Linked DNA regions of Homo sapiens: regions 1 and 3 are each linked to region 2. The links are contacts of gene promoters, found by promoter capture Hi-C in human tissues and cell types (Jung and others, 2019). All regions are on one chromosome and are shown on one strand. The core of a region is centred on a gene start or on the middle of the fragment in contact, and the rest is flanking DNA. Distances in the headings are between cores, read along the strand shown.

Region 1 (3,290 bases), core at 370-2,869, 150 kb before region 2:
TCTCTACCACATATGAGTTTAAAGCTTATTTTATTTGATACTTAAAACTTGGAATTGTATGATGCTTTCTTCTTTCATGAAGATACTATGACAAACTCAAGGAATAACTTTTGGTTTGTAACTACTGGCTAATAATATTGGAAGTAACCTAGCTTCTTTGAATTATGACATCTAAAGAGATGTAGAAAGCTCCTTACTTTAATAAAATGATTAAGAAAAAGGGAGAAAATATTGTAAGCAAATATGAGTAGCCATCTTGAAAATGGCAACATTATCTACTGAAAACAAAACTAAATATGTTTTACTTCACAAAATACTTTTAAAACACTCTATTTTGATCTGTAAAACAACTCTGTGAAGTACATATCGACAAAGATAGATTACAATTTGAATGATCCAGCCCCAAACTCTCCAGATTCGTATATCCAATTGTCCATTCAATATCTCCATTTGATTGCCTAATACATGTTTCAAACAAAGTTTCTCAACTGAACTCTGAATGTCTCTTTTCTCTCAGTCGATCAACTCTGTTTCTCATCTCTGTAAACAGCATAGCCATTCACTTAGTTTCTCAGACTAAACATCTTGGAATCATCCTTGACTCCTCCCTTTCCCTTACTCCCTATACCAAATCCTGTCAGCTTCAAAATATAGCCATATTCCTACCACTTCTCATGACTTTAACTACTAATACTCCAAACCACCATTACTCTTGCCTGGCTGCTGCAGCAGCTTTCTAAATGTTCTCTCTGTTGGCACTTTTGCTCACCTTTCACCTTCAGTGTTCTCTCCAAAGAACAGCAAAGTGCTCCGTTTATGAAATATGTCATATTGCCTTACACAGCTGTTTAAAACTTATTTTTTTTTATTTATTCATTCATTCATTCATTCAATCATTTGGAGACGGAGTCTTGCTCTGTTGCCCAGGCTGGAGTGCAGTGGCACGATCTCGGCTCACTGCACCCTCCGCCTCCCAGGTTCAAGTGATTCTTGTGGTTCAGCCTCTTGAGTAGCTGGGACTACAGGCATGCACGCCACCACACCTGGCTAATTTTTTATATATTTAGTAGAGATGGGGTTTCACAATGTTGCCAAGGTTGGTCTTGAACTCCTAAGCTCAGGCAATCCTCCCGCCTTGGCCTCCCAAAGTGCTAGGATTACAGGCCTGAGCCACTGTGCCCAGCCTAAAACTTATTTAGAATAAATTCCAAAGTCCTTATCATGGCTGACAAGGCCCATCATATTTGACCCCTGGCTCCTTCTCTAACCTTATCCCCCCACTCCCTCCCTTGTTCACTACTCTAGCCATTGTGGCTTTATGCCACACTTTGGAAACACCAAGCATGCTTTATCTTTGAATTGTTGTACTTGTTGTTCCGTCTCCTTGGAATACCCTCCTTCAGAAATCTGCATGACTCAGCCTCTAACTTTAGATCGGTGCTCAAATTGCAATGCCTCACAGAAGCTTTCTCTGACCACCCTATCTAAAATAGCTGCCTTCCTTTCATCTCTGTCATTCTATATCCCCTTATGCTGATATTTTTCTTCATAGCATTTATCACTACTTGACATTATAGCACATCTATTTGATTATGTGTTCATTTCTTCTCTCCTACTCTAGAATGCAATAAAATGATAATAATCACAATAATAATATCTGAACAATCATTAAATGATTGCTAAGAACCAGGAAGTCCTCTAGACACTTAACAGGCCTTAATTCATTCAATCTTCATCGCAACTAAATAACTTAGGTACTATTATTATCCTAATTTCACAGATCAGAAAAACTGAAGCATATAGATATTAGGTAATATACCCAAGGTCATACAGCTACTAGGTGGTAAAGCTGGGATTCAAACCCTAACAAGCAGTACCCGGAAAGTACTCTCTTAAGTACTGCACTCTACTACCTCAATGAAAGATATGAAGGCAGAGCCTCTGACTGCATCATTACTTCCTATAGTCACAGTGCCTAAAACAGTGCAGGGTAGGCTGTCAAAATGCATTTGTTGAAGAAAGAAATCAAAGAAAAAAAGGAAAAAAAAAATGACCCAGAGATATTAACAACTTGACCTGGTTATACAGTTAGATATTTGCACAGTCTGGACTCAAACTGGAGGCTTCTGACTCCTCATCTAGGCTCCTCTCACTCTGCCATTGCATGGGTTTTCTCATATACCTTCTCTCATAAGGTTTTCACAAATTTGTCAGGTCAAATAATTATCAAAATTATTCACACTATTATAGATGAAAATAATGTGCTTATAAAGATTAAGTAACTTTCCTGAGGGCGCAGGTATCTGGTTCACATAACAACTAGCCTGGCTTAGAATAAACACATATTTCCTGGTTCTGAAGTTGGTGTCCTTCCTACCACTTTCTGCTGTCTCCTAAAGATAAAGAATGTTATTGGCTCACTGAATTAATCCATTCTGTTCCTGGCTGAAATAAAAATTGGTATATTCCTTACGTGAAGTGTCAACAGGAAGGGGCTTTTACAACTTCCTTTTGTTTCCAGGCGTTAGTATCTCTGCTTGGTATAAGATACCAGTATTCCTAGGAAAGGCCTTGAAAAGAGGGACAGATACAAGCCTCTTCTGATAAATCTATGCTTTTCTTACCTCTACCAAGTAATAGCAAACATGAAAATGGTAAAGATCTTTACAACATTTGTCTCTGTACATATAAAACGTTTAAACACATGCGCAAAGATGGAGCAAAATATCATAGAAAATAATCTAAGCAACAAAGTCAAGAACCAAAATTCTGAGCAGTCTTTGAACAACAACTCAGTTGAAACATTTCCATGGCAACAGCAGGCTTATATGGTTGTGTGCTACTTTTAATATTGAACATATTTTCTTTAGGAGCTGACATGATTATCACAAAAAGGTTTTACAGTATTACAAAGAAAAAATAAGTGATAAAGGGAACTGACAATTTCAGCCTGCAAAATTTTTACTGAAAACATGTCAAAAGAGTAAATAGTTTACAAATAATAATCAATTTGTTCAATCCAAAACATATTCAGCCCTTGAGAAGGTCCTGAAGGTTTGCTAAATCCTGGGCTTGGGCCTTTAGCAAAACACACAAAGAGTAAGTAACTTGCTCAAAGTTATACAACTGATACAAGTAGGATTTGATTTCGAATTCAGGCCTATCCATTTCCAGACTACGCATGCTTTCCATTTTGCCAGTAAATGTATACAGATCACAAAAGTTACTGACCATGGGATGTATCAACTGGGATAATTTTTTTTAAGAGGGAAATAGTTAAAGGAGAAGTA
Region 2 (3,192 bases), core at 693-3,192:
GTCAGGCTAGACTTGAATTTCTGGCCTCAAGTGATCCTCCCGCCTTGGCCTTCCAAAGTGCTGGGTTTACAGGCATCAGCCACCATACCTGGCCTAACTTGGTTCCTTGACCACCTTTTTTAGACAGCCTATTGTGCTACTCCCTAGTCTCACCTTCACCTCGCCTGTCCTCACTTCATTCCCTGAGATTACAGACAAGAAAGGCCATTTCATATTGGCATAATATTGTGTCTATTTGCAAATTCATTTCAGCATTCCTACTCCCTATATATGTACAGTTCTTGAATACCTCTTTTGAATCAGTTGAAACTGGTTTTTACTGTAATCTCTCATTAATTACAGAATGCTGTAATTCTCTCATTAATTAACTAGTTCAATACATTTTTTGACATGTGTTCATTGTACACTTGTAGAAGAATCATGATTTTACCTTTTCTGAAAATTATTCTTTAATAATGGATGTTTTCTCAATAATGTGTGAATAAAGGCAACTTCAGGAAATGATGCAATTTTTGCTAATCTGCAATTCACAGTCTAAGTAAAAGTTGTGTTCTCTCTGCAAATGCTACTTCAAGAACTAACTAATAAGTTCAAGGACCTGTCTTTCTGTGTCCCAGTGGAAGAAACAATTTCAGTCAGATGTGAAGGACAAAGTAGACACAGAGAAGTGAATTGAAAAACTCTTCCAATTTTTAGTCTGCCTGGGAGACTCAGAATATAGAGTTGTCTCAAGCCTTAGATAGAAAAGACAGATATGAAGAGTCTTCTTCCCTTCCCCTCTCTTCCTCCACACCCTCCATTTTCAAGGGGTTAAGATTTGAAGAATCATATTCCTATCAATTAGCAACTTTATCATCTCTGATATTTGAACCACAGCAGGTGAGAAGAGAGTTGGAAAAGGAACTAAATTATCACAGGCGCTAAATACTTTTTAAAAGGCATTGCTCTGGGCCAGGTGTGGTGGTTCATGCTTGTAATCCCAGCACTTTGGGAGGCCAAGTTGGCTGGATGACTTGAGGTCAGGAGTTCAAGACCAGCCTGGCCAACATGGTGAAAACCCGTCTCTACTAAAAATACAAACATTAGCCAGGCATGGTGGTGGGCGCTTGTAATACCAGCTACTCGGGAGGCTGAGGCAGGAGAATCGCTTGAACCCGGGAGGCAGAGGTTGCAGTGAGCCGGGCGACAGAGCGAGACTCCATGTAAAAAACAAAACAAAACAAAACAAACAAACAAAAACATTGCTCTGAATCCTGTAAGCATCGGTCATTGTCATCATTATCTTTATCCTAATTTATAATCACTCATAAAACTTGTCAGAAGCTTTCAGCTTTCAGGCTGTTATGTAGAAGGATGGGCTTTGCAGCAGGTAAGTGAGGGATCCAACCCTCTCCATCTAACTCTGTCACAGGCTTTGTCACATAATCTCTGGAGCTTTGTGTCTTATCTGTAAAAACAAAGCCATGTTTGTTGAGGATATTAACTGAGATACATTTAAGATAACATAGAAGCTCTGGAAACTATTAGCTTTATAAAAGTGTCAGTTGCTGGACTTGTCTATCAGTTTCCTTATCTCTAATGGAAATTATAATGGAACCTACCTCATAGGGTTCTTCTGAACTCCAAATGTATTTAATAAATGTAAGAACACTTCCTGACACGGTTAGTGCTTAACAAATGTGAACTATTGATATTATTAATGTATGCTCCACGAGGGGGCGTGTCGGATTTGAAACACCTTTTCATCTCCCATAGAGCCTAGCACCTTGCACCCAGCAGGCGCTCACTGCATCTTTGCGGGATGATTTCAATGTTCTGACCTCAGCCTGCGCTGCAGGGAACGTCCGAGTGTAACGCGTTAGTTCGTAGGCCGGAACCCAAAGCTCCGGACGCTGCGACGCCGGAGCCTCTAGGCGCCGGGACACGGGCGCCGGAAGTGGCGAAGGCGGGGTCGGCGCTGCCGGGTGAAATCGTAGGACAGTGAAGATGCTGCTGGAATTGTCCGAGGAGCATAAGGAACACCTGGCCTTCCTGCCTCAAGTGGACAGCGCGGGTCAGCGGGCGTGGGGGCGGTGTTCTGTGGGCTGGGGAGGAGGTCAAAGGCAGCGCCTGGCACTCAACAGCCTTCTGACTTTCATTGCAGTGGTCGCCGAGTTTGGGCGGATTGCTGTGGAATTCCTGAGACGCGGCGCAAACCCAAAAATCTACGAAGGCGCCGCCAGTAAGAAGGGAAAGGGGAAGGCTCCGCAGGCTTCTAGGGCGGTTGCGAGCCATTCCCTGTCTCCCGGGAGAGAAACGGATTATTGCGAGTCCTAGGGTCTTGTTCCGATTGTAGTAGAATAAAACCAGCAGAGCTCTTCAGTCAGGGTGCAAATCCTGCCCGTCCCTTAAGTAGCTGTGAGATTGTTAAAGCTTCTATTAAATCAGTTTTCTCATGGTAAAATGTACATAATACCACCTTACTTTCAGAAATACTGAAAAGTGTTTTGTATAAATATACCAAAGTCTGTGGAATAGCTGGGTCAACTGTAAATTGCAAGTATTTGGTTATCATTATTAGTTGTTCAGATATCCGCTTTTGCTAAAAAAAAAAAAAAAAGTGTTGTTTTACCCCTGGGTAAGAGGCAGTCTCTGGGATTAAGTCAATCCCTGTCGAGTTCCTCTTCTGCCAGACTTGAAGGAGCTACGTATTCAAGAGAAGGGCTACGCACCTGATACTAGTCTCCACAGTTCTGCATTTTGTTAAGGTTACTTGGTGGGAAATACCAAAGGCATTTGGCTGGGAGTGGAATGACAAGGAGCAGGAGCCTCTGGCCAACTTACTGTTTTTCATGCAGTGTTTGAAAACATGTAATAATGAATAGTGTTTATTTTTAAATACAAATATGAACAAGATAAATACTACAGTAGTAATTTATTTGCTCGTTTTTACTTTTCTTTCTCAGGAAAACTCAATGTGAGTAGTGACACTGTCCAGCATGGTGTGGAAGGATTAACGTATCTCCTCACTGAGAGCTCAAAGCTCATGGTAAGGGATTTTCTGGACTGTTTTGTGTTGGCTGGATTCTTAAGAACGGTCTGGTGTACTCTACATCATAGTCCTGGCAGGTACCTGTGTGTTTTAATAATGTTGTTAATGGTTTATAATTGATTTTTTGAAGACATACCTAAAAAATAAAAATCATATCATCT
Region 3 (3,565 bases), core at 390-2,889, 160 kb after region 2:
TTACCGGAGAAGTAGATTTTAGGTGGAAATACCAGATGCAGTTGGCAGAATCAGAAGTGTCTCTCCCTTTGCTGAATTCACAATGACTTTGTATTCACTAATTCTTTCTCCTACCCCCTCCCGCAATGTTTCTCACATTTGGCAACATATGATAACATTTGTACATTTTCCCGCACTTTTGTATTAATATATTTATTACGGGTCTGAGTATTTAAACATGAACTTTTTTCTCAAGTCATTTAAAATGACTACAATTCCTAACCCAGAATGAAATGTTTCTTCTAATATAACTATTTTTAATTTCAGAATACATTGCAAAAATGTTTTTTGTGTAAATGTTTTAAAACATAAGATATTATCATGAAAAGGTAATTTCTTAGAAAAATTGGAATTTATCTCTACTACTTTTTTTTGTTTAGAGAAAATTTAGGAAAAGTGAATGTACATCTTGAATTTTAGTTAAGTAATTACAGTTATATAGTCAATTATAAAGGCTGGTTACATAGCTTATTATAGACTGAACACATTTTATACAACAGCCCTATTTGAATATTTTCCCTAGTTATTAAAATAATGAAAACATTAATAAAAACTAAAGGCAATATGATATTAAAAGCATTAATAAAAATGGAAGGCAAGTTAGGCTAAAGTTACTATCAGAGACTGGCTTCTGAAGGAACAGGTTTTGGCTTTCCAAGTGGCAGGGCCTTAAGAATCACATCCCCAGCTCTGGCTTAGGGTTCCAGCATTGCTCATGGCATATTCAGCTGTTGCCTTGCATCTCCAAATCTATCTTCAGAGTCCTTTTACCTCTTCCTTTTAGGTCATAGTGGAGAGTTGGCGTTCCGCTTTGTATTTATGTTTTTTTAAGTAGTATTTGTATTTCTTTCTTTCCTTTCTCCCTAACAACTACAGGATCACATGGACCTAATTTGTTTTATTGTCACAAGAGTCCCTTTTCTTGACAGGATATGCCTAATTAAAACCAGGGTGTTAAAAAAAAAAAAAAAGCTAAGTTTTGCAGGCAAGTTGACATACTGTGTGACTCAAGGGTTTCAGGAGGGACAAGGAGGGATGGTGGTGTGTTATTGAAGCAAGAGGAGGACCAAGCCTGCAGGAGATATTGTTCCAGGACAAAGTCAGGCTATCAGCAGTGCTGACGGTCCACCTCCCCTTTTCCTTCCTTCCTAATGGCCCAAGTTATGCACGTCAGCCTCTTTGGGTTCACAAGGCAGTATTGTATCATGGAAAAAGCCCTAGACCTTATTATGAGAACAAGATTTGACTCTGCTCTGCCACATGGAAACTAAGAACTTATTAAGTAGGTTTACTTCACCCAACTCTGTTTCTGTATCTTTTTTTTGAGACGGAGTCTCCCTCTTGTCACCCAGGCTGGAGTGCAATGGCATGATCTCGGCTCGCTGCAACCTCCACCTCCCGGGTTCAAGCGATTCTCCTGCCTCAGCCTCTCGAGTAGCTGGGATTACACCCGCCACCATGCCTGGTGAATTTTTGTATTTTTAGTAGAGATGGGGTTTCACCACGTTGGCCAGGCTTGTCTGAAACTCCTGACCTCAGGTGACCCGCCTGCCTCGGCCTCCCAAAGTGCTGGGATTACAGGTGTAAGCCACCGCACCCGGCCCATTTTTATTTCTTAAAAACAGAGATTAGTAAGCCTGTTATGTAATGATCAAGTTAAGATCATTTTTGAAGCCATAAAATGGTATATAAATGTCAACTATTATTATCAGACATTAACAGCATGGTTATTGTGAATATTATGACTAATAATTAATATGAATAATTATTATTGTAACTATCATTATTACCATGATTGTCATTATTAGGAATATAAGTAGCAATTCATTCAACATACATTTATTATTTAGTGTCTATTGTATGCTAGATATGGTGGACTTTCAGGACCCATGGTGTATAGTACCTGGTAGAGGCTCAGCCGAGCAGTTTGCAGAATCAACAGGAATGAATTGAGAATGACTTAATTTGTTTAATAGAATGTGACAGCATTCTCTAGAATTTGTTCCTTTCTGGGGCAAGTAAGGAACAAATCTTCCTAGATTAGTTTTATGAGTACTTACAGATAAAAACATATATGATGTGAATAAGATTCAACTGTTATATTTGATACCTAGAAGCAAAATGATTTGTCGAAGTAAACCCATTAAATATGTTCATTCATTCATTCATTCATTCCTTTAATTCAGTCACTTATTCTATGAGTAGTTTTTTAATGTCTGCTGTGTGTAAGGCCTTCTGCATTTAGTCCATAGTTGGGGCTACTGAGAAGTTGAAAGCTGCTTTAAAGTCTCCTTTCATTTTAACACCATTAAAAAAAAAAAAAACTCATGGAAAGGAAAAATCTAAATGTATCCTGTAAAGAAAATACCATTTCCTCTGGTAATTATGATGGTCTATATCCTGTTTAACTCATTGCACGGGGTTCCTCTCCAAGTCAATGAGGATTGCGTAAAGAGTCTGAAGGCAGGATGTGCCTCATAGTGGGATGAGAAGGAGCCTTGTGGCTGGTCGTCAGACTAAATTTAAACCATTATTTGTTGTGAATATATGATTAACGTGGGGGTTAAAAATGAAAAATACAGCTGCAAGAGTAGGTTTCTTCCTTTGATAAAAACAGAAAAAGTCAGGAGGGACAAGAAGAAAACAAACACAGTTACGTGAGGCATGCATTCTCTTTCATAAGAACAGTCAAATATATTTTAGCCTAATCTTTCTTTCTAGATACAATAAATGCCGCTCCCTTCTGGATTAGGCAGATGACAGCAATAACAGTATTGCAGCTGGGAGTCTCCCAGGCTGACAGGTGCTGGATATAAGATGCCCCAGATTGTCCTGTGAAGTACAGGACATGCTAGGCCCTGCTGGATCTGCCCAAGGAGAGGGCAGCTCCTGTGTCTGTTGACACCTCGTTTAGATTCTCCCGCTCACTCAAACAGCTGCCAGAGGCAGCCGTAAAATATTGCTTAATTATAGAACTTCCCTTGATCCTCTTTATCCCTTCCTTCTATTGCATTTTTCCCCCTTTTGTGCCTCTCTCTAGTTCAGAGCACCTTTAGGCTAAGCACTCATGGGAGTATTATGGTGGCGCCTTTTCCAACTCACAGTTAAGGCAGAGACAAGATTTTCAGTCCTGCACTATAGCTGTGGAATTATTTTCAGAGGCTGTAATGAGCAGGTATAGGTTCAAATGTGGAATGCAGCATCATTTTTTAAGCAGGAAATGGGTTCATTTTGGGGGGAGGATAGCTTTCTCATTTTTTTTCTGATTAGAAAAATAATGCTTATTGTACAAAAAGAACAAAGAAATGTAAAGATATGAATAAAGCCTACTTCCCCCTTGTTCATATGTGTTCTATTTACCAAAACGGGATTATGTTCACTCCCACAATATATTTTAGCAAATACAGATCCATGTAATTTATCATGTCTGTTCAGTCTTCCACTGTCTGACTGTACCATAATTTGTTTAACCATTCTATCATCATACACTAAAGATAGAAACAAAACCGCTGTGGACATCCTTAAG

What was found. Contacts are between HindIII fragments. The study calls those that stand out against the background at their distance.
Region 1: a contact is called between a fragment that was not itself captured here and the fragment with the promoter of COMMD2 in region 2, in 1 of the 25 tissues and cell types used here (hippocampus).
Region 3: a fragment that was not itself captured here is called in contact with the fragment with the promoter of COMMD2 in region 2 in 1 of the 25 tissues and cell types used here (bladder).

What each region holds. Positions count from the first base shown.
Region 1 is chr3:149,897,059-149,900,348 of GRCh38, reverse strand. All of the region lies in intron 5 of RNF13 (ring finger protein 13), which reads right to left. Among named protein-coding and RNA genes, the nearest start is that of PFN2, 72 kb to the left of the region's middle. The HindIII fragment of the contact is 3,542 bases long and covers 1-3,290 here.
Region 2 is chr3:149,751,239-149,754,430 of GRCh38, reverse strand. COMMD2 (COMM domain containing 2) reads left to right here and starts at 1,942. Exons shown (of 5, transcript NM_016094.4): 1 at 1,942-2,053; 2 at 2,144-2,221; 3 at 2,946-3,028. The coding sequence starts at 1,987. RefSeq lists a silencer at 1,717-1,786. The HindIII fragment of the contact is 2,909 bases long and covers 639-3,192 here.
Region 3 is chr3:149,588,445-149,592,009 of GRCh38, reverse strand. The region is part of intron 2 of WWTR1 (WW domain containing transcription regulator 1); the gene reads left to right. Among named protein-coding and RNA genes, the nearest start is that of WWTR1-IT1, 62 kb to the left of the region's middle. The HindIII fragment of the contact is 4,755 bases long and covers 1-3,565 here.